Regions from separate parts of the Homo sapiens genome. Here all the other regions are linked to region 4. Evidence: promoter capture Hi-C in 16 types of primary human blood cells and fetal thymus (Javierre and others, 2016). All regions are on one chromosome and are shown on one strand. The core of a region is centred on a gene start or on the middle of the fragment in contact, and the rest is flanking DNA. Distances in the headings are between cores, read along the strand shown. Region 1 overlaps NCK2 (NCK adaptor protein 2). Region 2 overlaps NCK2 (NCK adaptor protein 2). Region 3 overlaps NCK2 (NCK adaptor protein 2). Region 4 holds the start of TGFBRAP1 (transforming growth factor beta receptor associated protein 1).

Evidence for each region. Contacts are between HindIII fragments. The CHiCAGO score rates a contact against its expected background, and 5 or more counts as called.
Region 1: a contact is called between a fragment that was not itself captured here and the fragment with the promoter of TGFBRAP1 in region 4, in 1 of 17 cell types (neutrophils). The highest score is 5.3, in neutrophils.
Region 2: a contact is called between a fragment that was not itself captured here and the fragment with the promoter of TGFBRAP1 in region 4, in 1 of 17 cell types (neutrophils). The highest score is 8.5, in neutrophils.
Region 3: a contact is called between a fragment that was not itself captured here and the fragment with the promoter of TGFBRAP1 in region 4, in 3 of 17 cell types (monocytes, megakaryocytes and neutrophils). The highest score is 5.9, in monocytes.

The regions. Positions count from the first base shown.
Region 1 is chr2:105,794,881-105,801,441 of GRCh38, forward strand. All of the region lies in intron 1 of NCK2 (NCK adaptor protein 2), which reads left to right. Among named protein-coding and RNA genes, the nearest start is that of NCK2, 53 kb to the left of the region's middle. RefSeq lists silencers at 5,681-5,770, 5,791-5,850 and an enhancer at 6,041-6,210. The HindIII fragment of the contact is 4,654 bases long and covers 1-3,715 here.
Region 2 is chr2:105,812,280-105,818,568 of GRCh38, forward strand. NCK2 (NCK adaptor protein 2) reads left to right here. Exons shown (of 5, transcript NM_003581.5): 2 at 4,151-4,334. Among named protein-coding and RNA genes, the nearest start is that of NCK2, 71 kb to the left of the region's middle. RefSeq lists enhancers at 1-222, 223-723. The HindIII fragment of the contact is 5,530 bases long and covers 1-4,460 here.
Region 3 is chr2:105,757,713-105,764,133 of GRCh38, forward strand. All of the region lies in intron 1 of NCK2 (NCK adaptor protein 2), which reads left to right. Among named protein-coding and RNA genes, the nearest start is that of NCK2, 16 kb to the left of the region's middle. RefSeq lists enhancers at 3,340-3,419, 4,311-5,156. The HindIII fragment of the contact is 3,292 bases long and covers 1,158-4,449 here.
Region 4 is chr2:105,326,781-105,333,155 of GRCh38, forward strand. TGFBRAP1 (transforming growth factor beta receptor associated protein 1) reads right to left here and starts at 2,955. Exons shown (of 12, transcript NM_004257.6): 1 at 2,845-2,955. C2orf49-DT (C2orf49 divergent transcript) reads right to left here. Exons shown (of 2, transcript NR_187479.1): 2 at 4,749-6,375. RefSeq lists a silencer at 2,840-3,269. The HindIII fragment of the contact is 18,854 bases long and covers 1-6,375 here.

The DNA.
Region 1 (6,561 bases), core at 139-2,638, 470 kb after region 4:
ATGGTTATGTCCAGAGAATGATTATTTTGTATGACTACTCTCTCTATCTTCTTTTTTCCCTACTCTTTTCCATCACCATTTTTTAAAGATGTTTTTTTCTTTCCCCTTTTTATTTCTTGCTTTTTAAAAAAAGTTTTATTTTTTAGAGCAGTTTTAGTTTCACAGCAAAACTGAGCAGAAGGTACAGAGTTTTCTCATATATCCAGTTCCCCCACATGAACTAGCAACATCCCCGACAGGGTGCTGCATTTGTTTCTGTGGGTGAAACTGCACTGACAAAAACCAATCACCCAAAGTCCAGGGTTTATATTTGGGTTCACTCTTTGCGTTGTGCATTCCATGGGTTTGGACAAATGTATAATAATAATTATTGCTTTTTAATGTGAGCAAACACATATGTGTATACAGTGATATATTTTTAATTTTTTTTTTCCTCAAATAAGCAATAGCATACTCTATACACTTTTCCCAAGCAAGAGGTCAAAGGTGGTTTTCTAATTATATGGTATATTGTAACTTAATCATGATATTGAGTTAAACTGAATGGGCCTGTTTATTTAGTTATTTTGAAACGGGTAATTATAAAAACTGCTGCATAAATATTTGAGTCATATTCCAAAAGAGTTAGAAAATACATGGATATTCCTGTCTTATTTTTGCTTTAACAAACTTGGTCTATTTAGTTTACATGTATGCTCCGTCAGTGGTTCTCAGCCAGGGTGATTTCATTCCCCAAGGGATATTCAGCAGGCAGTGTCTGCAGGCGTTGTTGATTGTCACCAATTTAGGCAGGGTGTGGATTGTTGTTAAACATCCTACAACGCAGGGGACAGCTCCACGACAAAGAATTACCGAAACGTCTGTATGCCCCTGGTGAGAAACACTGCTCATGTTCAACCAGGTATTTGAGTCATTATTCCTCCCTCTAGACCTCTCCCTCCTCCCTAACTTCCTTCCTTCGCCGCTTCCTCTCATCTTCCACGCACCCTCCCCCCAGTCTTTTTCAGTAAAACTAGGTATTTACATCTAGGACTTTAGGAAAACATGAATCATTTAAAATGAAACACATCAACGATATATTCTTTATTACCAGTCTTGTAAAAAGAGCAAAACAGTTTAGCATTTGAAAGCTCTATTGTAGTTTGCTCTGGTATAAATCATATGTGCAGTCAAACTTTTTTTGGAAAGCTAATTCTGCTTTATGATACAGGTCCCAAGAAGACAGAATTTTATTAGGTGCATGCACATGGAATACCAACTTCAGGGTTGAAAGTGACTGAGGTTGATAGTCTCTGTATTGGCCGCCCTCTGGGCACTGTGGCTTCAGGGTTGAAAGACAATCATTTGCAGGCGTGTGTAAGTATATATGGCTGGTGGGCAGAGTGGTGGCTTTGCTGCTCTTGCAAGGCTGTTTTGTCATTGATGGCACACAGGAGAGTGCTGGAGGTTAGTGTCAGTTTATCTTATCTCTGTACTTCCTGTTGCCTCACTTTAGGATCTTAAGAAATATTCAATTTCCACTAAAAAGAGGAGTGAACAATTCAATGTTTTGCTGTTTTAAGGGTCATGTATGTAAATATGGATGAATGGGGGCATTGGAGCAGGGAGCACATGGGGTATTATTGGCACCGGTTGCAGAGAGGGCCTGGGGACATGAGTGTGTGGCACAGAACGCAGGTGTTCAGATCGGCAGCGTCTGGACTGAGCCTGGGAGCTGGAAGGCTGGAGATGGTGCTTTTCTTCCTTTTGCATTTGGCAAGGAAGAGTATCCCGTAGTTTAGTGTTATTCCAGAAGCTCTCGGCATCATGTTTATTCCCTTTCTTTTTTTTCCCTTGTACTTTCTCATACCTCTATCAGATAAATTAAATGAATTGGAAAAATAACTAAGCATTTCTCTTTGACGCAGGTAAATGCAGTATACATTTGATTCCATGGAAAGGAAATATATATAATTAGAACACTTATAGACATTAGTGGTGACAGTTCACAGGTTAGTCTGCCCTCTCAGGAGTTGTCTTGATAAAATAAATTTTATTAAGCATGTTACTTGTAAGTGTCAGCACTTATCTGTGGTTGGTTCAGTACCCCTAGCTGGGGTGAGTGTTTGCTGTGATGATGGTTACAAGCATAGTCTTGCAGAAATGGATTTAGTCATCACAGTCCCTTTTTTATTTTAACTTTATGTCTCTAAGACATAAAAATTTATTATCCTTTTTAGGCCTTTGACTCACAGTTTGTACCACCATCTTTTCTTTCAGCATCTCCCCCACCCACAAGAAAAAAGTTGACATTGATTTCTAATCCTTTCTGTCTGGCCAAATTCAGGATCTTAGAAAGGACACCCCTATTTCAGCTCCTATACTAGTGTTTTAAGGGGAACCTTTAAAATGGGATTCTGAAGCCTTGGCTGATTTTTCTTTTCTGCACAGGAAATAACCAATTTGTGCTATTTCTGGGTGGTGTGTGTTGAACTCACAGTTCTAGGACCGGAAGAGACTGCCAGCCATGCGGTTCCATATTGTGCAATGCAAGGGCAGAAATGGTATCCAGGTCTTTCTAAGGGGGAAAAAACCAGTATGGCCAAGCAGCAGGCTGCCAGGCTGTGCGGGCTAGCAGAAGGGAGGTTCTTAAATTCTCTGCACCCATGTGAGGGAGGCTGCTCTCTTGACAGCGTCTTAGGGTCAGGATGGCTGGAATGGAGCGTGGAGCCTGGTCTGGTTGGAGTCCCTGTGTGGCCTTTTGGAGATGAGTATGGTAACAGTGAGGCAGGAAGTGGCTGGATTTGCAGCGACTGTGTGGAGCCTCCCTGTTTAGGCTTAGTGAGCTGATGCAAAGTCTTTCGTAACCATGATCAGTTAAAACAAAACACCTGATGTTGTGGCCTCCTGTCAGCTTTTGTCCTCCTGTAGAAACAAGATGCTTCTAGAAAACCAGTTTGTAAATTTGGCACAGAAAAAAAACCCTTTCAGCAATTTGGTGTGGACTCTGCTTGTTAATTTATGGCTTCGCAACTTTTTTTAAGCTACCGGCACTAACAGCAGATCTTTAAGTGTTTAATCGTCCCAAGTCAGGTTTGACTGTGGGCTGACTAGCTATAGTGATCTAATTTGGTTCATTTCCTAGGAGAAGAAAATTATAACCACATTTTTATTAATTTATGGTTTTGATCCATCTATTTTAGACTCAATATTAAATCATCCCCTACTTCCAGAAGATGTGTTTTTGAACATAAGTATCTTTAGGATTTAATATTCTATGAAAGGAGTAGGAGCTAATGTTCGCTTGTTGTAATGTTTGTTTTCTTCTGATATGATGATTTTGTTGAAAAAATGTATTTGAAAGAGTAACGTGTAGGTAAGAAATAAGTTAGCCAAAACCATACTTCAAGGGAAGCCTCCCTCCTATCCTGGGAGCCCGGATAGCCTCACTGTGGCCTCTTGTTTGTACATCCAGAATATTCTTGAAACTGGGTTAGCTGAGTCATTTTTTTTTCTTCTTTCAGTGTTCTCCTTTTTTCTTTTTATAAAATGAAGAGATCTGTCCACAAGTCTAGCTTTTAACAATGAGAAAAAGCACTGAATTGTACACTTTAAACAGTGAACCAGTTTGGGGTCTGGTTTAGAGAGAAGAAATAAGGGTTAAAATTGTTTTCATCTTCCATATCTGATTCATATAATCAGATATGAATAGTGAAGTTCCCCAAAGATACATGTAAGCTTGGAGTAAAGACAAAATGTATGCATTACTTTGATGGGGGAAGCCTGTGGTGAACCCACTGAGGTTGCTGGTGATTAAGTTTATGTGGACGGTGAATCTCAACAGAATGAAAATAAACTGTGGGTGTCTATTTTGAAGCAGATGAACCAGGCAGCAAAGCAGTAGCTGTGGTTCTTCATAGATAAATACATTTAGGGAAATTAATACAAAATGTTCTTACCTTATTTTTCTGAGTTGTTCACCGAGCTTCCTCAGATGTTAACATCTTAACCACAGCACAGTTTTGAAAATCAGGAAGTTATACCAGGTTGTTGTCATCACACTTTCTGATCTCCAGTGGTCTGAAAGGTGAGAGGTGATATCTTAGTATCATTTTAGTGAAGTTCAGATGTCCCTTTTCATCAGTTTGAAGGCCTTATATTTTCTTACCTGGTTTTCCTTGGCCCACGGTTTTCTTGGTGTGTTGGTCTTTTCTTGTGTCAAGTTTATTTAAGAAGCTCTCGCTGTGTCCTGTCTGTCCTTCGTGTCCTAAGTTGCAAATGTTTTCTCCTAGCTTTTTATTTGTCTTTGGAATCTATCTGTGGTATATTTTATCATGTAAGAAAATTTTTTATGTTTATGTAGTTGAATTCATCCCTCTTTTATGGTTTCTGGAATTTGAGTCCTAGGTTTAAAAAAAAAAAGTTCTTCCTTCAGGGTTATAAAGGGTGTTTTCCATATGTCCTTCTATACTTTTACTTTTTCATTGTAAATCTTGGATACCTTTGGAATTTATCCTGTTGTGGGCGTGAGATGTGGCTCCAGCTTTCTTTCAGATGGCCAACCAGAGTACCCCATGGCCATTTATTGAGAAGGCTGTCTCTTCCCTGGGGACTTGACTTGAGATAGTGCCTTTATCATACACTGAATTCCCAGAGGCCTCTGGGTCTGTTTCCCATGTTCCTGCTTCCTAGTGTTTCGTTAGTCTGTCTATCTGCCACACCAAACACGAGCTGATGAGTTATTTGAAAACTTCCTATTTTAAAGCAGAAAAACAAAACGGAATACCACTATATGAAAGCCTATAAAAAGCTAATTACCATGTTTACATAAATGGTACAATAGCAGCCCAGAGGTCACTGGGTTGTTTTGGCATGGAGGGATGCTTCCCTCTACCTCAAGCCTAAAAGTGGTTAAGATAGATCCATTTCAAGAAGCCATTGGTCCTTACCTGGCCTTCCCCTCCGCCATCTTGCCACTATGTTCTTGGCTATGGAGACAGGATCAGGGAATTTGATTGAAAATCATTAATGACATAACTTTTTTTTTTAACAGTGAGAGAAACACTCAAACACTACATTTTGCAAAGTTTGTAAGAATCCCTCCCAAGAGTTTCCTTTGGTCAGCGTAGCTTCTGGTAATAAGGAAATCTGTCATTTGGAAACACCATCTTTGTTCATGTGGTATCATTAGATGTGTCTTTGCACCAGCATTTGACAGAGACCATGACAGTTTTCCTCCTGAGCCCTTACTTTGTGAGAAGAGAGGGTCAGTGCAGCCATGTAGCCTGGCTGCACCGTATAGTCTGGCTCTCCCTGGTCTCCGGCACGGGGGCCACATGCCCAGGGTGAACACCAAGGAAGGGATCCTGAGTCCCCAGGCTCCGGTTCCAACTGCACACCTTGTTCTCTGTCCTCCCTGTGCACGCCACCTAATTCTCTGCTGTGAACGGGGTAATGAGGTGTTGTCTTGTTGTAAAGATTGATTGAGATAGTGCATAAAGAGGGCCTAGTCTGGTCTGTGGTACCCAGGATAGGGTTGGTAAATGATTGCCATTAGCATTCATCTGTTTCCTTTCCTCTTTAGAGCATGAAATTCTGAGGTGCACAGTTCCTGAGCTTTAAACTTGAGTGCTGGAGGCCAAGGAAAATAGAATACAATTCAGGATTACGTAAGAGTGGCATATGTGTGTGTGATTAGCCCATAGAAGGCGGAAACCCAGCTGACATGGGGTTAGTCTCAAAGTTCTACTAAGGCCTAAGAACAAGAAACATTCATCCTGTTTTTGGTCTGTTTGAGATAAATGGACCGAGAGAGTGGGTTTGGTGCTTGGTTTCTGATGGGACCAGTTGCAGGAGCACAGTTGATCAACTGTCATGAACGTCTGTGTTTTGTTTTGTTTGTTAAAAAGAAGAATCTTGAAAGTAGAGGCTTCAGAACAAATGTCGTGAAGAAGGAATTGAAGCTCAACATGGGAAAAAGTGAGTGGGAGAGCACCTTGCTGCTTTTCAATCCAAGCTCGAGGTTCCATGGGATTACATGCCTGTCCAGGTGGTTGGCAGAAGCCCCTTTAGTATTCTTTGAGGGGTCTTGAAGGAGAGGAGAAGTGTCAGAAGATTGGAGACAGGCAAATGTTCTAATTTTCTAAACGCAGAAAAAAGCAGAAGCAGGGAAGAGATACTTAAACAGGTTACTGAATGGAGGTGAAAGCTGGGCGTGCTGAGCCCGTCAGCATTTGTTCTCTTTGATGCAGTGTGGCTTGATGTCTGCAGGGTGTCTGGTGAGGTTGGACCCTCTTAGGTGAGTGTCCCATAAATCTGTGGTGTTAATATGCCTCCTTACCCTGGGACCTCCCCTCCAACCCTGCTCACTGGCTAGAGGCCTGCCGGGCTGTCATCTCCTTGGGGACAGGACTGTGATCATTTGCCCCCTTGTTGGACGTCATTGTAGGGATCCCCCAGCCCCAGCCCTTACGTCTGTTGACCAGCTCACTCGGCTTGCCTCCCCCCTTCCCCATGTCATCGTGTGCACCAGCACGTGGTTGAGGGATGTGCTTTTTTCTTTTTTTTTTTTTCTCCTCACAG
Region 2 (6,289 bases), core at 446-2,945, 480 kb after region 4:
CACCTTTGAGTTTCGGATTGATAAACACATCTAAGCTGCTCAGTATCAGTCCACATGGGTTGAACTTTGGCCAAACCACTCAAAGAAACTTGTGTAGCTTTGTTCAGTATCTGAAACCAGCCTTTTCCCACTTGAATAAGGTTCTCTTCCAAGTGGTTCACTAGGAATGAAATATAGCTAGCTCTGCCAGAATTCCCTCAGACAGCGCTGACCCCGTGCTGTGTTGGGCTGGCACTGCCGCCTCCGTACTCTGAACGGGAGATCCACTTGCAGGCCTCTGCTGGGCCTCCTTGGTCAGGGAGGGAGGAGGGAAGGGTAAGACAAGGCATTTGAGAGCTCTGAGGCCTATGCTAATCCATGCTTTTTTGTTTTTCTTTTTAAATAAAAGGAAAAGGACAATTGCCTTAGCTCTGGCTACAGACTAGGGATCTGGAGTGGTTCTCTCCATGTGTAACACAGATTAGATTTGGTTATGATACACACCCGAGTCCAACATCTGCTCATTACTGAAGCCAGGTGACACTATTCAACAAGGCTTTTTTTTTTTTTTCCCTCCTGTGCTAACATCTAAGAGAAGCAGTAACGTTGAAAACAAACTTGGTGTGTGTACATTCATGGGCTTGCTTCTTGATGTAGCCTGACATGGTTCCTAGCTGATTTGAGAGGTTGGAGCCGGCCACCCAGGGTGGCAGATACCCCAGACAGATGGCATCAGCAGATGCGATTTGCAGAATGCGACTGTCAAGGTTCTAGCCCTTTCGTGGTGATCTTTGTCAGGAGAAGGAGCACTCTGGCTTTAAAATCAGACAAGTGTGCATTCAAATTCTGGTTGTGAGACATCTGGTCATTTGGTTCCTGGGCTGAATGATAAGATGTATCTCCCAGGGTTGCTGTGACGATTCTTGCAGCTGATGCTAAGGTGAAGCCACGGCGAGTGTCTCACTGGAATCAGAACATGTTCTTCTCCCAGCCTGTCACCGTTTCTATCATTTGGACAGTGGGAGAGGAGGGATTCCCTGAGCCTCCTGAAGGCTGACTTTAGTCTCTTGGTGACTTCAGTTTTCTGGACAAATAGGCCACCTCAAAAACAGGTTGAGTGACAGCACCCAGTGGTATTATGTCCACAAAGCTCACAGCCTTGGGCTGTCATCAGAACAAGGCTCATAACTCCCTTCTTAACCCTGAACTGCTCCTCTGGAGTTGCCTTAGTCAGGGACCTCATCACTGGACTTCCCTCTCAGATGCTGATAGTTGGAGGAAACCAGCCCAGGTGCAGCAGAAGACACTGCGCCAGCACCACACAGGCATTGGGGATGCAGAATCGGCCACGACTGCTTGCAGGGGGGCATCTCACTGCCTGGCCCTGCGCCTGGGACAAGTAGTGTGGCCTGGCAGTGCTCAGCACACTCGCCCAACACTGCAGCTAAGTGCTGCTGAAAACACTGGAAAACCCTGGGTTGTGGCTTTAGTGGAAAAAAAGCAAATTTTAAGGTTACAGAGAATTCAGATAATCCCTTGGATTTTGCAGTGGTAAAATTTTGTAGTATTAAGGATCCACATTAAAATGAAGAGATACGTACGGTATCAGTGTTAATTGCCTTCCAGCCCTCCCTCCTTTATTTCTAAAGGGAGATGCACGTAGTGCTAGTGAAGTACTTTTAGAGAAAAGCACACACTCCTTCTGTATATTCCTGTCCTGAAGCTGGCTGTAGAAAATCCTTGAATCCTTTGGTGAGGGCCTTCTACAGTCCAAGTGACCGTATAGGTGTTTATCTTTCAGGCTGATACTGTTTTTTGCACAAAAGTGTATACTTTCCTGATGGATTTCGATCACTGATTATAATTAAGACCTGCTTTGAAATGCTCTTCCTTAACACAGGTTTTGAATAAGCTAAGAGCCCCATGTTAAACTTGGGCAGTCTTCATTTAAACCCAGAGAGAGAGATGTTGACCACCATGTTTTATTCTACTTAGGGTGTACACTTAACACATTGACAGTTTGTCAGTGGAATGCTTTTCTCAAGGAAAACATCGCATGCAACCTTCACGTTTTACACTTGAATCCCAGATGGCCACTGGCACCTTTCAATGGATTTTCAGTAGCCTCACTTTTGTTGGAGCTGCTGCATTAGTTCAAGTCCTGCTCCGTTCTGTCTGGCTTTTCCTTTACTGATTGTGCTTGGAGAGGCCGTGTTCTGACTTGCCCACTGTGCCTAGTATCAAAGGACTCAAGTTCTAAATCCAGCTCATTGTTCTTTTGCGGGGTCTGGTAGAGAAGCTGCTCAGGCTTTTGGTTTGCTGTTGGCATAAGGAGTCTCTCCTCTGTTCGCATGCAGAAGAGATTAGAGATGTGCAAAGCCCACTCATCCGGAGTCCAAGGCCTAAGTGATTCCTCACTCTCCAGTCGGTTGGGAAAAACCTTTAGTGTCACTGAGAAAGTGAACTCCTCTGTACATTTGGGCATTAGAATCCATCCTGGCAGTGTATCAGAAGGATTAAATCATATTACTCATGAGACACAGGGCACACAGGGGGGAGGCCTGTATTTGGACAGCCCAAACAACTGCATAAAACAATTCCTTGCATTTGCCTGTGGAAGGCAGACTCTGGGCAAATTCACTTCCCAGTTAAAATCTTAACAACACAACTTAACGTTTATAATAGCCCCTGAAAATGACACATACAGAGGTGGTGTTTGGGGCATGGTACCCAGCACATTGCCCTTTGCTGATGTTCAGTGGTGTCAGCATGAGAAACAAGAACTCTTGGTCAAGAACTGAGTTCAGATTCCAATACTTCCATCTCGAGAGGACCTGTCATTTTATTATAAACACTTAACAGAGAGAAGGGCAATCTGCCTAGTATACGTTTGAACTTCTTGCCCAAAGATGTATTCCCACTGTGTTTGGCCATCACCTTTTCCTTGCCTTAAATTATATCTGTATTAAAATGATGCGGCCTTTAAAACAGTGCTAGAGAATACATAAAAAGGAATTAATTTTTAAATCAAAATTTATGAACTTGCCTTATAACATTTTTATGATAGCCCTATTTGAATTATCTTCTTATCTTTGACTAAAATAGAATTCGATTTTTCTATGGGGTATTTAACATTTTGGATCATAATCATGCTAGGGATGAATTAATAGATCTTCTGTGAGTGAACTGTCAAGACAGATCCCCATTGGGTTTGAAATGTAATTAAAAATGTCAGTGAACTCACTTGAAGTCCACAGAGTGCTCCAGGGTCCCCTCGAAAACGTTAGTCAAGGACTGAAAATACTTACCAAGTGCAGTGAACATAACGCAGCTGCCAGCTCTCCACAACCAGGAGGGCGCTGGTCACCTTTGTCAGGTGCCTCTCATCTTAACTTCCTTCTAGTTTTGGAGTGTTCGTCTCAGAAGTCTTGAAACTAGGGGTGCTTTTTAGCCCAAGGCTATGGGTCCGGTTGGTGGCTTCTCAACAAATGGCTGGTGCAACAGACCTCCAAGAGAGGAACGAGTCTCTAAACAATATCCATGCCCTTTGTAACCCTTCTCCGTCATTAGACTCTCAGACTGGCCACCTTTCCAATGGGCAGACTCCCTTTTATTTCTGGGAGGCTTTTAAAGGTGGGGCTCATTGGGAGGAGGAAGTCTGGAAGAGACTGGGAGCTCAGGTCCCTTGATTATGGGCTGGCTGTTCCCCCACACCCCATCACCTCCTTCCACCTGCTGTTCACCGGGTGTGTGGTTGGCCCTCCCCAACCCGAGTGTCGGAGCTTGCCCAGGGAATGAAAGGTGGGAAGAGGGAGTACATGTGTGTTGATGGAGGTCTTTAGGCACAGAGCAGCTTTAATCTGGGATATATTTAAAACATTGGTTTCAAAATACATAAAATTAGCCAGGGGTGGTGGCATGCCTGTGGTCCCAGCTAATGGGGAGACTTAGGCAGGAGGATCACTTGAGCTCAGGAGGTGCAAGTTGCCGTGAAGTAAGATCGTACAACCACACTCCAGCCTGGGTGACAGAGGAGACCCTGTCTCAAAAAAATAAATAAATAACAAAAAAACCCATTAGTTTTAGGCAAATAAATAACCAGTTATTTTTAAAAGTGGTTACTTAAAATCAAAGAAGCAAGCAGACCTAATATATGCTTCTTTCTTTTTAGATTTCATGTGTTCTTTGTATACAAGCGACGTCCCAGATTATAATTCTCTGCTGAGATTTGAGTTGGATTTGAGGATTTGGAGAATCCCTGCAGCTTTGTAACTTCAGAGGTGTAATTAGCTGAAAACATCATCGTTTTGAAGAGTTCTGCGTTTTGCCAGTCACCTCTCAACTGTGTGCCAAAGGTAAGTCTGCAGTTTTCTGCTTAAAACAGAAGTTGCAGCTTTTTGCTTCAAATGCTTAATTTGGACAGTAAGTTTAGTAAAATATCAGTCAGTGTAGCCTTGATTTGTTGAATCACATTAAATTTAAGCTTTCAATGAGGGAGAAAATTAGATTATCTCTGTTCCTGCTTTAGTGTGTGATGGTTCTGAGTATGTAGCCAGGAAGCAGGATGGTAGACACCTACAACCTGTAAGATGGTACAGGTACCTCCACACTCAGATATTACTGACTCTTGAATCCATAACGAATCCTGGTCCCTGTATTCTGTATGGGACAGGGAGTATAAGGATAAATAACCACTTTTCTGGTGCTTTCAGTCTAGGAAAAGTTGGATTCCAGCTTTGATGCTGAGAAGATAAATCTGTGTCAAAGGATAGCTGGGCATGGTGGCGTGCACATGTAGTCTCAGCTATTCGGGAGGCTGAGGCAGGAGAATTACTTGAACCTGGGAGGCGGAGGTTGCAGTGAGCCAAGGTCACACCACTGCACTCCAGCCTGGGCAACACGGCAAGACTTGGTCTCAAAAAAAAAAAAAAACCTACATCAAATGAGATGCAGACAGATGAAGGATTCTCAGGAAGGTTTTACCTGTTCATATGAAAAACCTACTTGTGTATGTTACAATAAAATCATAACTGTGATGCAACATGTGGATTCTGGGACCCAGTGGTGCTATCACCACAGGCACCAGACAAAAACATGTCACTGTGCAACAAAAATATTTCTTAGCCCTAACATCTTAAGACATTTAACTTAAAATATGAATTGCTGTTTGTAGTCCAGTTAATCCGGTGTTCTCTTTCTGGCTGGGCAGTAAGAAGTGCTTTATGAGAAGACACATTTTCACCTCCAGAGCTTTGTCTCAGAATGAACTGCAAGAATAACACTAGCTTTCCTTAAAAACTTTTAATTTGCTCAAAAAAATTTACAAGAAAAAAAACAACCCCATCAACAAGTGGGCAAAGGATATGAACAGACACTGCTCAAAAGAAGACATTTATGCAGCCAAAAGGCACATGAAAAAATGCTCATCATCACTGGCCATCAGAGAAATGCAAATCAAAACCACAATGAGATACCATCTCACACCAGTTAGAATGGTGATCATTAAAAAGTCAGGAAACAACAGGTGCTGGAGAGGATGTGGAGAAATAGGAACACTTTTGCACTGTTGGTGGGACTGTAAACTAGTTCAACCATTGTGGAAGACAGTGTGGCGATTCCTCAGGGATCTAGAACTAGAAATACCATTTGACCCAGCCATCCCATTACTGGGTATATACCCAAAGGAATATAAATCATGCTGCTATAAAGACACATGCACACGTATGTTTATTGCAGCACTACTCATAATAGCAAAGACTTGGAACCAACCCAAATGTCCAACAATGATGGACTGATTAAGAAAATGTGGCACATATACACCATGAAATACTATGCAGCCATAAAAAGTGATGAGTTCATGTCCTTTGTAGGGACATGGATGAAGCTGGAAACCATCATTCTCAGCAAACTATCGCAAGGACAAAAAACCAAACACTGCATGTTCTAACTCATAGGTGGGAATTGAACAATGAGAACACTTGGACACAGGAAGGGGAACACCACACACTGGGGCCTGTTTTGGGGTGGGGGGAGGGGGGAGGGATAGCATTAGGAGATATACCTAATGTAAATGACGAGTTAACGGGTGCAGCACACCAACATGGCACATGTATACATATATAACAAACCTGCACGTTTTGCACATGTACCCTAGAACTTAAAAGTGTAATAAAAATATATATATATAAAAAGATTTTATTCCTTATACTGTAAGATTTTTCCTGTACATCTTACTATCAGCTTATAAGAAATATATATTTCCAACATGGTATATTTAACAGAACAAAATAGAAAAGATTGTTAAATCAAG
Region 3 (6,421 bases), core at 1,554-4,053, 430 kb after region 4:
TGGAAAATAACTTTCGCCATCTCTGGGTGGGGGAAGCACATATGGGAAGTCCCCCTCTAACCTCTAACCCAACCCCCAAGGCCAGGCAGAATTCATTTGAAGCATTCTGGAGGATAATATTTTCTTCAAGATCCTCAGAAGCTCTTCAGTGCACAGGCAACTCCCAGATACTGGAATTGTCACCTGAGCTGAGACATTCCACATGCCAGTTGTAAGCCAGGTCTCCACCACAGCTGGGGTGAAGCACCTCTATTCTCTCATGCCAGGGTGGGTGTTATTATTCCAGGGCCTGGATGAAGCTCAGTTAGTTTGCTTAGGATGAACACATGATTTGTGGGTCAATTTTCAGGTAATGTGAACTCTACTTACATGTTGTTTATTGCTTGAGAGCTTTATCTCTTAAAAATGAGTTAAACTACTTGGCGCTTTGAGTGGAATGCAGGTCTCAGGTAGCACACTAATACTTCCTTATTTTTTTTTAATTGATAATGGCATAAAGCCATTATGCCATCACATTTGATATAGAGATGTAAGTAATTGAATCACATTACTTCTCTTGGATTAGTAATGAATATTGCACATCAATCCTGTGCACACATTTTACAGGTTTGTTTTATCCTATTGATGGTTTCATTTGAACTGTGTTTGGAAATTTAGTTTATTTCTTACTCCATTGTAGATGTTTGTTTTTGTTGTTTTTGTTTTTTTTTTTTTTTGAGACAGAGTCTCGCTCTGTCACCCATGCTGGAGTGCAGTCGCTTGATCTCGGCTCACTGCAACCTCTGTCCCCGGGTTCAAGCAGTTCTTCTGCCTCAGCCTCTCGAGTAGCTGGTACTACAGGTGCGTACCACCATGCCCGGCTAATTTTCGTATTTTTAGTAGAGACGGGGTTTCACCATATTGGCCAGGCTGGTCTTGAACTCCTGACCTTGTGATCCACCCGCCTCAGCCTCCCAAAGTGCTGGGATGACAGGTTTGAGCCACTGAGCCCGTCCCGTTTTTGTATTTTTTAAATGCAGTGTTTGAAATTCTTGACTTCTACACAGTAGTCAAGACTGATACTTCTACCCAGTACCCAAATTACTGTACTGCTCTGACAGTAAGTTGTTACAAAACTATTTTCCAAAGGTTGGAACTGATTTCAGGGTTTACATTTAAGCTTTGTTTAACATCTGAAACTGAATTAATGCTAGCATTCAAAACTAGTAAAATCATTATTAGTGATTCGTCCTCTATTTGACACTGAACCAGCAGACATTTCCCTTAGCTTTTGGTGACATGGATTAAAGTAAAATGGTTTTGGTGATTTACTATAGTTAATTAGTGATAGACTATAATTAATGCTTAGTGTTTTGAATGAACTTAATTTGCAAATAATGATAATTTAAGATCTGAGTTTGATAAAATTTTAAAGGTTGATCGAATACCTAGATTCCTGGTTCTTGGGCCTTCAGAAGGAGAGAATTTCACGTGTTAAGTCCTTATTTGGTCTTATTCAAGGGAGCAAGATTTTTTGTTTGTTTATAAACACATGCAGTATATCGTTTTACGTATTCAAGTACACATAGTACGTTCTCTGGGGAAAGCAGAAAATTGTATTGCATTTCAGCCATGTAATACCCTCACGTTCGTGTATTAAGCTGATCAATAGGGGTATTTATTTCCTTTTGTTGAGCACAGTGTTTTAACGTTTCCAAAGTGTAATTTGTTATTGTTGAAAGTCAACCATGTTACCCTATGCATACAGGCTTTTATATAATAAAACATATGGTATATATTTTTAAGTAAGCGCTTAATTTTAGAATAGATTTTAAATTTACAGAAAAAGTTTCAAAGATAATACAGAGAATTCTGATATAAACTGTGTCTACTTTCCCCTGTGATTCACATCTTACGTTACTATAGTACATTGGTTACATCTAATGAACCAGTATTGGTACATTATTGTTAAGTCCATAGTTTATTTGCCCTGACATCCTTTTTCTGTCCCAGGATCCCATCCAGGGCACGTTTCCTTTAGTCTCCGTAGCGCCTCTGATCTGGGACAGTTTCTTAGACTCGCCTTGTTTTTAATGGCTTGACAGCTTTGAGGAGCAAAACTGCTTTTCAGGTGTTTTGTAGACTGTCCCTCAGTTGAGAGTTGTCAGATGTTTTTTCATGATTAGTGTAGAGTTACCGGTTTGGGGAGGAAGGCCACCGAGGTAATGTGCCATTTTGTATCAAGGGTCCATGTGATCAGCGTGGCTTATGATGGTTGATGTTGATCTTGATCACCTGGCCCAGGTAGTGTTTGTCAGGGGACTCCACTGTCAAGTGACTCCACTGTCAAGTGACTCTTTTCCCTTCTTTCCATACTGCTGCAGTCTTTGGAAGGAGGTCATTTAAGGAAGAGGGAGTTCAGCTGTACCTCCTGTAGGGGTTGTATTTACATTAGTTATTTAGAATTCTATCTGACAGATTTATCTATTCTCCCAAAAGGGACCAAGATTTTCAGTGGGGATAGAAGGCACTGTGGCACAGACAGCCCCTTGGCACTGTTGCGGAGGAGGTGATAGGATAGGATGGTGCCCCAGCATGGGGTTTCCAGAATGTGGTCCTGGGCTGTGGAGAAATGCAAATTCCGGGGAACTGCCTGACTTCCCGCGTGGGATAGGTTGGTCTGGAATTCTTCCTGTTGCACGAGTTCCCCAGGTGATTCTGATGCATATTCAAAGTTGAGAGCCTCTGCTGTGGATTAGCACTTGAACCCCAGGTGTGCCGGCCAGGAGTCAGGCCCTCACCTCCATCCTTGCCGTTCACACCTCTTCCCTGCTGGTGGCACCTAGCTCTAAGGCTCCCCGTGTAACCACTTCTCCCACAGTTTTGACCACCTCTTGGATCTCTCCATCTGAGGCTCCCTTTGTATCAACCAAGGGTCTTTGCTTTCTGGATAACTTCATCCTTCTTTTGGTGGGCCCAGAGTTCCAGTGAAGGGAGAAACCAGTTACAGCTGAGAACCCTATTGTGGAAAGGCCAGTCAGGGCCAGAGTAGGGAGGTCCCTAGATGCCAGGCTTCTCTGAAAATGGTTTTGTCACATGTGAGAGAGAGAGAGAGGCAGAGACACCGAGACCCCACGTGGACTGTGTTCAGGTTTGAGCAAATAAAAAATCACCGAAAAATCTTCATAGTTTCTACATGTGTCATGCCTTGCGCTTTGGGACACCCCTAGCTCTTGGGCACATTCCCTGGTTGAAGTGGGAGGGCAGTGGCCTGAAGAAGTTTCTTTGGGATTGGGATCTGGGTGGCCCTCATCCTGCTTCCGCCTGAGGAAGCCCTGGTCTGTGACTGGGCTCAGGAAGTGGTCCCGACCCAGTGTCTGAGGAAGGCATTCTCCTCTCATAGATGGGGGCCAGAGTCTGCTGTGAGGCCATGCTGGTGTGCCTGCCCGCCCACCCTACTGGGCCTCTTCTGGGCAGCAGGGTTGTGCCCTACCCGGGTGCTGGGAGGTTTGGGTGTGTATGGGAGCGGTGGTATGGACGGGGCAGGCGTTGGCTCAGAAGCTGGCGTGGGGAGGGTCTTGAAGTGGTCATTTTAACTCCTGGCTGACTGACTTCCAGAGAATCTTTTTTTGGGAGGGAGAAGAGTGGCTCACCTTTCTCTTGGGTACAGAAAAAGTCAGAATTAAGGCCATTAGCCTGTTTCTCTTTCTGGTCACTGCCTTCTCCCTCCTAGTGATGGGACGATTCCAGGCTTGGGTGGAAGGCCAGGTGGGGGGACACTACTTCCTGCTCCACCCTTCCCAAACCATTATACACAGATGAGAGAGACTCTGTTGTATTCATTCACATAGATATAATTTATAATAATGCATTTTGTTTATTAAAAAATGACTGGGCCAGGCAGAGTGGCTCATAGTGGCTCATGCCTGTAATCCCAGCACTTTGGGAGGCTCAGGTGGGAGGATTGCTTGAGCCCAGGAGTTCAAGACCAGCCTGGGCAACATGGCGAAACCCTGTCTCTACAAGAAATACAAAAAAATGAGCTGGGTATGGTGGCAAGTGCCTGTAGTCCCAGCTACTTAGGAGACTGAGGCAGGAGGATCACTTGAGCCTGGGAGGTCCAGGCTGCAGTGAGCCGTGATCAGGCCCCTGTACTCCAGCCTATATGACAGTGAGACCAAAAAAGACTGAATACAGACATGTGCGCTGACCCTTTTGAACATTATTTTCTTTTCAATCTCTGCCTCTGTGTTACAGTTTATGTTTTCTCTTTTGTCCTGCGGATTTTTGATACATTTTAAAAATATCTTGTCCTTTTTCTAAGTTTTTGCGTTGACTACAGTTGCAAGTGTGGGTTTTGGTGGCTTTCTGTAGATGAATCACTTGACCTGAAAACAAGGACTTTCGCTTTGCTAGAAAATTAAGGACAGAGTTTGTGGAATGCACTGCTCTTGGGTTTTCCTTAGAAGAAGCTTGTGAGAAGCACAGTTTCTGTGCGTAAGAGTGGGCTTAAACCAGGTGATCTCCGAAGATTTCCTTCAACTCTCAAGTTGAAAGAGGCCTTGCCGAGGAAACAGGCAGCTAATGGGCAGAGCATCAAACCAGGGGGGGTCTAGGTCCAGGCCCGGGCGCTTCCTGCTGTCAGACTGCCTCCTCACATCAGCAGGCATTCCTGGGATTCACAGCAACAAAAGAGCCCTCTGCTTTGAAAGGGGTTCAGTCTGTCTCTTCTGTAGTCTGGACTCTGGAATCTAGAGATTCGCTGAAGCTCATGTCCCAGGGTCTTGACGTAGTGTGAAGTTCTGAGTGATTTCCTAAAGACGGTGTCCTGAACCATGGGCCTGTGGTGGTGAGTGCATGGAGGATATCTGTGAACTTTGGGGTGGGAAAAAACATCCTTATTTCCACCAGCTTTTCACTGAAATTCAGTATTTCCTTCCTGCATGAATGTAGGTAGCACAGCCCATAGCATTTACAGTCATCAGAGAAATGGTCACTATTTTCCTGTTACATAATAGTGATGCACGTGTGTTGAAAGAGTGACTGCTTTTATCATTGCTCTCAAATTATGGTTGTTATTAGCACTGCTGCTACCCTCTCGTTTGGTGTGTTAATAAGGAAATACGTAGATTACTATGTCTCAAGTTTGTTTTTAAGTAATATATTAATAACTGTGTTCCACATAGTTGCATAAAATGAAAATCACTTAAAAGCAACCTGAGGCCAGGCGCAGTGGCTCACGCCTGTAATCCTAGCACTTTGGGAGGCCGACGTAGGCGGATTGCCTGAGCTCAGGAGTTCGAAACCAGCCTGGGCAACACAGTGAAACCCCGTCTCTACTAAAGAATACAAAAGAATTAGCCAGGCGTGGTGGTATGTGCCTGTAGTCCCAGCTACTCAGGAGGCTGAGTCAGGAGAATTGCTTGAACCCAGAAGGCAGAGGTTGCAGTGAGCCGAGATCATGCCACCGCACTCCAGCCTGGGCGACAGAACGAGACTCTTGTCTCCAAAAAAAACAAAACAAAAGCACCCTGAGGAGGAGTCCCTAGCCCTCACCATTCTGCCAAGGGGAGAGCGGGACCTCGCCAGGGACCAGGTGTCACTGCGTCCTCTGATGACCGAGCTGCTGGGACCGAGGCTGCTGGCCAGAGACAGTCTACACAGGCATTGCAGAAAAGTAGCTCAATTTTGCTGCCTAACAGAACTCTTTCCAGTCATGCAGTAACGACAAAACATGCCCCAAGTGGGTAAAATGAAAACCTGTTCTCAAAAGAGAATATAGAAAGAATTTTATTTAAATTGGATAAAAGCCTAGTTGTTGTTTTTATAAATTTTATTTAATTAAGTTGTCACAGTGGGAAATATTCAATTTGTTAGTTGAAAAAAATGTAAAATTGTGTTCTGGGATCTGTGATTATTTACTGTTACAGCAGTGGGGTTGGGGTTGGGTTGTGCATTGGGAACTTAGGGGTTTATAATAACTTCCAGTATCAGGACAGTGTAAATGACTTAAAATCTCTTGTGTGAAAAAGTTTGACTTTCTGATTCTCAGCCGTGTTGTGGCAAAATGGTCCCTGGAGTTTTTGACCCTGTGTTTAAAGAAATATGCTATAAAATAAAAAATAATTTGGAAGAAGAATTGGCTCAGACATTACTTTCATTGTGCCTTCTTGCATGTGGAACTATAAATACCAGCTGCTAGAAGTTCCCTTACGATGATGGACTGTGTGAAGGTACATTCTTAAAGTATTCATGTGTCAATAATAATAGCTGATATTTATTGAGCACTTAACGTGGCTGAGCATTTCATATGTGTTGCCTAATTTAGTCCTCTCTACAACCCCACGAGGCTGCCCTCAGCCCCGTTTAACAGATGAGGTAGCTGAGATGGAGAAGCTAAGCAATTTGTCCGAGTGCTAGTCCTGGCAGCTTCGCTTTGCAG
Region 4 (6,375 bases), core at 1,705-4,204:
GTTGTCATCTTTAAATATGTGATTTTTTCCTTAAATCTTTAACTTTTTCAACAGCAGTTACTTGACTATCAAGAAAAGATCTTGATTTCAAATCATCTGCAAGATTTCATAATTCACTTTTCATGAGGCACTTAAAGTCATTTGGGGTAGCACCAAATTAAGTTGTTACTCTACATTCATTTAGTAGGTATTTATTTTTTTAAATAAAGAAAAACGAGTCAGGTTTGCTACAGAGATGAGTTGTAAAGTCTGAGCCAAATTATTCGGCAGTATCCAAACACCTGGCTGCCACAAATGACTACTTTAATGTATTTCTAATGAGGGCTGGATTCAGACCAAGATGAAGACACTTAACCCATTAAGTAAAATTTCTTCAAGTTTTCTTAAAAGATCACAAATTTGTAATATTAGCATGAAGGAATAAGCCAAATAACTTCATTTTTTTTTTCCTAACAGAAATGTTAGCTGCATATCAGACCCAGAAAATACAGCAAGTTTTTTGGCTGGGCGCAGCGGCTCAGGTCTGTAATCCCAGCACTTTGGGAGGCCAAGACAGGAGGATTGCTTGAGGCCAGGAGTTTGAGAACAGCCTGGGCAACACAGGGAGACCCCTATCTCTACAAAAAAAATTTTTTAAATTATCTGGGTGTGGTAGTGCGAGCCTGTGGTCCCAGCTACTTGAGAGGCTGAGGTGGGAGGATCCCTTGAGTCTGGGAGATCAAGACTGCAGTGAGCCATGGTCACACCACTGCACTCCAGCCTGGGTGACAGAGCAAGACCCTGTCTCAAAAACAACAGCAAAAAAACCACCCAGAAGACAACAACAAAAAGAAAATATAGCATTTTTAAAATAGTGAGCTCTATGCTTTTAAAACTCCTCAACTGGAGCTGCCTAAATGAAGAATGGGCCCTTTACAAATCCCTGTCTCTGGAGGGTTTAAGCTGAGGTTAGATTGGTCCTGGGATTCCTGCAGTGGTGAAAACGCTCTGCCTCCAATGCTATGACAAGAGGACTGCCATGCACAATCATGAGTGTAGAAGAAAAGGCAGAGTGAATGAAGGCTAACAGTGGCACCTCACCTCTCACCCAATTCAATTGTGTAATGCAAACCTTGATGCACATAGCAAATTGGAATTCAGAACCCACAAGTCTAACTCCAGAGTAAATCATTTGTTAGGTTAACAATTACTCAAAACATAAAACTACATATTTTCAGAGCTGAGGGAGACCTGGCTCTACATCCTCATTTATATTTGTCAGCAATAATTTATTGAGCACCTACTAAATGCCAGACCCTGTGCCGGATCCTTTCCAGGCACAATTTCTTATTAGAATTCATGTGCCTTTTCTAATATTATCCCTATTTTGATGGAGGAATTTGAGACTCAGAATGTCCAGCAAATTGCCCAAAGGTCACAGGAAATGGCAGAGGCAGGATTTGAACCCACACTCCACATTCATTACCACCACAGAGCATCACTCCCATTTCATAGATGACCTGGGGCAGGCTAGTTATGGACAGGTTCCAGCAGATTCCAGCCAGTAGACTTTCTAGTACTCCAGGCAGCGTTTTGCTACACATCACAGAAGCAGCTGCAATGACTGTTGAGGCTGCTCGGCTGGCAGAAATGGAAGGAAAAAGAAAAGGAAGCAGCTGACCAAATGTTCCTTCTGACTGACCATGGAACTGCGAGCTCTCAGTTGTCTGCCAGCTTCCGGCTGACCAACAGAGAGAAGCATGTCCACCATGAGAGAGTAGCAGCCACCACACAGTCCCTCTACATTCGTTCATCCTGACTCCAACCAAGCCAACACACACAACGCAGTAGGATCTTCCCTGCACACCTTCTCAGTGCCTTAACTTGCCACCACAATCACACCCGCAGCTGCCTTCCTTCCTGATAGACAAGGTGCTTGCCCATGAGCACTTCATCAGTGATTAAACTCTGCTCAGACATGTTTTGACCACAGCTGCGCGTGCAGTCCACGTGCAGTAAGGCCTGCTGTGTGATCTGTGAGCCCCCATTTTTAGCAGCCAGGTAGGAGGCTTCCTGAGGGTCACTCAACAGTCCTTGGGTAGAAGCCACGGCAGGTGCAGACAACCGGACAGCTTCCGTGTTTAAGGATATCAACACTTAACACAGGGAGGCAGGCGGACTAACTTGCACCTGCACCTCCAGAAGGCAATGGAAAGAAAACAATTCCACAGGGATGACAGCTTCCAGCCCTTGACCTGGTGCTAAAAACAGGGGCCAGGAAGCCCAGCACAGCACTTTTCCCTACTCCCCAACACACCCCTGCCTACTCTCCAGATCAGGACAATTCAGGCCTGAGTGTGACCCGAATTTGAGCTCTCAAATCCAAAGAGCTCCCAGAAACCTCAATCACAGCGCCAAAACCATTCCATACCAGGGATGGAGGTGCAAGTCCTTCCTGGCCCTTCTCCCCGGAAAACCCAAATCAAGGACGAGGTCTCTCAGGTCTTCCCTTGCCCTAAACACACACGCACTCCTCACACACAACATACACACTTGACCCCACACCCGTGCACACTTCATCCCACACACACGTGAACACTTATTTGCTCACCCCAGCAGGCTAGCCGGCCCCCACAAGGGACAGCTACCAAGTCGCACACCCGCACACCTGCCCCCAAGTGTATAGCCACTTGCTCCCCCCACCCCGCGTTCCAGCCCCCACTACACCTGCCCCAGCGCACACGCACGGGCTCGCCCTCCACCCCGCCCCGCCGCCTACCCCCCACTCCTGCTCCCCGCCCTCCTGCCCCACGCGCCCCGCGCCCTGAGCCCCGCACCCCGCGCCCCGCCGCCCTCCTCACTCACCGGCGCCGGCGCCCGCCGTCCCGCGCCGCCCCGCGGCCTGGGGCCCCGCCGCCCCGCTCCGGCCCGCGGCTCCTGGGCTGGCCCGACCCCGCAGCCGCCGCTTCCCGTCACGTGGGGCGGCCGCCAGGCGCTGGCGGAGGGCGGGAGCGCAGCCGTCTCCGCGCCGCCCGCCGGCCCGCGGGCCCTGCCGCCTGGCTCCGAGCACAGGCCGAGACGGGCCCTGCTCCGGGCCTCGGCGTCCCCCTCCGTGCACCGGGGCCACGACACGGCCCGCCTCGCGGGGCGGCCAGCGGGCGGAAGGTGTTCATTCGGGGGGCGCTGAGGCCGCCGGCCCCGGGCGAGAGCGTGGTCCGCGCCAGCTGTGCGAGCCCGCGGGGCTGAGGTCTCTTCTCCGCCCCCGCCGCTGCGGGGAGCTTCAGGGAAGCCGGGCTTTGCCTGGCTCGCTCGCCACCCAGTTTCTGTCACCTACACAGGAGGAGGGCGCCCGGGAAATACCTGCTGCGTGAATGAATAAATGAATGAAATGCTTGGGCCCTGGGAAATGCTTGGGCCCGCGGCCGCCTGACCACGCGGGCTGGAGGATCGGACGTACCGCCGGTGCCCCACCAGGAGACGAAGGCATGGTTGGGATGCGCAGCCCTCCCACGAGGCCCATGGCGCCCCAGGGCCCTAGGGATTGACCGGGACCCCCGACTGGCAGAGTCCACCTGCTTGATACACTTATTTGAGAAGGGAGGCCTGGGACTATCTTACTCCTTTTAGGAAAACCCAACTGTAGCTGCTATTCCTTTGGTTCAGGCCGCAAGGAAGAATTGTAGGTTACCATGAATCCATGAACCCCTCTTTAGTATACAAAGTCCACTTTCATGACGGAAGAATTGGAAAGCTCCCTCCAGAGTTGTCAGTACTCAATTATTAGCATATAAAAAGTCAAATTTTCCCAGGGATTTTCAGACTTTAGAACCTGCTAGTGACCTGTGGCCTCAGCTTTCTTCCAGCCACTCTGAGTATTGTAAAACAAAGATATTATCCCAACCCTGAAGGCAGATACCAGATTGTACGCCATGGTCTTCTGTTTCAAAGGGATAAAAAAAGAAAGAAAAGAAACTGGCCAAAAAAAAAAAAAAAAAAAAAAAACCCAACAATCTTCCTGTGACTTGCCCTCTACCCCTACCCTAGTGTGACTCATGGCCACATAAATGCCCCATCCCCAGTGGTGCTTCAGCTGTGACCCAGTGGAACCAGTGTCACCGGCTCAGCCTCCAGGTAGGGGACTGGCTTCCCAGGAGTGTAAAGCTCTGACCAGCAATTGAGCTTCAAGGGCAAGCAGCAGTGAATGGACCTTCAAGTCTAAGGTGGCCAACAGCTAGTGGAGCCAGGGATTGGGAAGGTACAAGAGCAAATCCAGTCTCTTCATTTTACCCAGGCTCACAGAGACTATGTGACTTGTCATCAACTAATCACTGGCTCAGGTGGTCCTAGAATTCACCCTTGTGCTTTTGTATCTTAGTCCTCTACCAGATCACATCACAGAGAGCTGCACAAGACTAGTTACAGAGGTGATATCTACTGACTGCCAGACAGTGACTTCAGAAACTGCTAGTGACTGAGCAATGAAGTAGACGCTATTAATTTACTTAATAGCGTCAAAGAATAAATTTAATTCTTTGAGGCAAAGAAAGGTGAATGACTTCCTGTGTTAATTCACTTAGGAAAATATAAATAAAAAAATTTAAAAAGGTGACTTGTCCCAAACCCCATGCTAGTAAGAAAGAGCAACAATAAGAATCCAGAATTCAGCAACAGTAATTCTTTTTATATAAAGTTGTTTTGAATGAATAGTTTATGAACAATCTTTGTGTTCTACTTTAGATGATCCAGGAGTGAAAATGTATAACAAGAGATAATTCAGATATATTTATTTTATGAAAGGATTTATTACAGGATTCTTACAATGGCAAGCTCCATATTATTCCATCTAGAAACATCTGTTCCTTCTGAAACTTGATGAGAAGTCTGTGTCACAAATGACAGGCACCTCCATGTAAATGCCTGTACCATAAATGTGCAAATATATGCACAGGCCAAATTCCTTATGTTGTTTCTATTGGTTACATTTAAGAAGAAATATCAACCATATGGCTTTCAAAACAATTATTAACTTCATTTTTAAATATTTATTAAATATTCCTTGGGCCCATACCGAGCGTTACTTTACAGAATGTGAAAAAGATGTGCTCCGATGAGAACAATTAATGAAGACTGAGTTGCATCGATATAACTGAATATTTTCATAGTTGCTGTCTACTCTCAAAACTTAGTATTTTTATGCTTACACATACTCTGTGCTTCTCACTTTCTCGCTGGGTATACGCTTGGGAGGGCAAGGATTGTGTCTATGCTCTCTGCTGTATCTTTCTGCATGTAGAAAACACTCAACCAATTTTTAAAAATTCTTGATGCTCAATATTGAAATATTAACTAGATTACTTTTTTTTTTTTTTTTTAGACAGTCTCTTTTGCCCAGGCTGGAGTGCAGTGGTACAATCTTCTCAGCTCACTGCAACCTCTACCTCCCAGGTTCAAGCAATTCTCCTGCCTCAGCCTCCTAAGTATCTGCGACTACAGGCATGCACCACCACGCAGGGCTAATTTTTGTATTTTTAGTAGAGACAGGGTTTTACCATATTGAACAGGTTGGTCTTGAACTCCTGACCTCAAGTGATCCACCCACCTCGGCTTCCCAAGGTGCTGGGATTACAGGCATGAGCAACCACATCCAGCCTTTAGTACTAAGATTCCATTATTCTAATATATAAGCTATTTAAGAGCACACATGTAGGATGGTTGGTGTCATTTTAGAATATAAGCAAAGAAAGGTTACATTTTTTATTTTTTTTAAAGCAACAGCTTACTATGTGCCATGTTTTAAGAGCTTTTACATGTAATAGCTCATTTAATCACATATACACACACATTCATATACTTGTAATCTAGCTTCAGTAAAATAAACTTTTTTGAACTATTGTTCAATCAACTACTTCTTTAGCAGCTCCTATGTGCCAGGTACTATGCCAGAGGCTTCAGCAGATACTGAAATGAGGAAGACAGTCTCTACCCTCAAGAGTTTAATGGGCAATGGTTTATAAGGTAGAGTTGGTAGCCAGCAGTATCAACATCACCTCTGGACTTGTTAGAAATGCAAATTTTGGTGTCCCCATCCCAAACCTCCTAAATCAGAAACTCTGGGGTTAGGACCCAGCAAACTATTTTTACAACCCCTCCAGAGGATTCTAATGGGCACACAATTTTGAGGACCACTGGATTAGTGTGGTATGTGCAAGAAAAACCCACCTAACGAGATCATAAGGCAAAAAATAATGTGCTCTAGAAGTTTGGTGATAGTGGAGCTCAGTTGGGAAGTATCTGAGGATGGGGAAAGGTTCATTCATCTGTATTCATTCAGCACACACTTACTGTTCTTGTGCTGTTGTAGCAGGCACTGAGAACCCAAAGATGAAAGGTAACCTA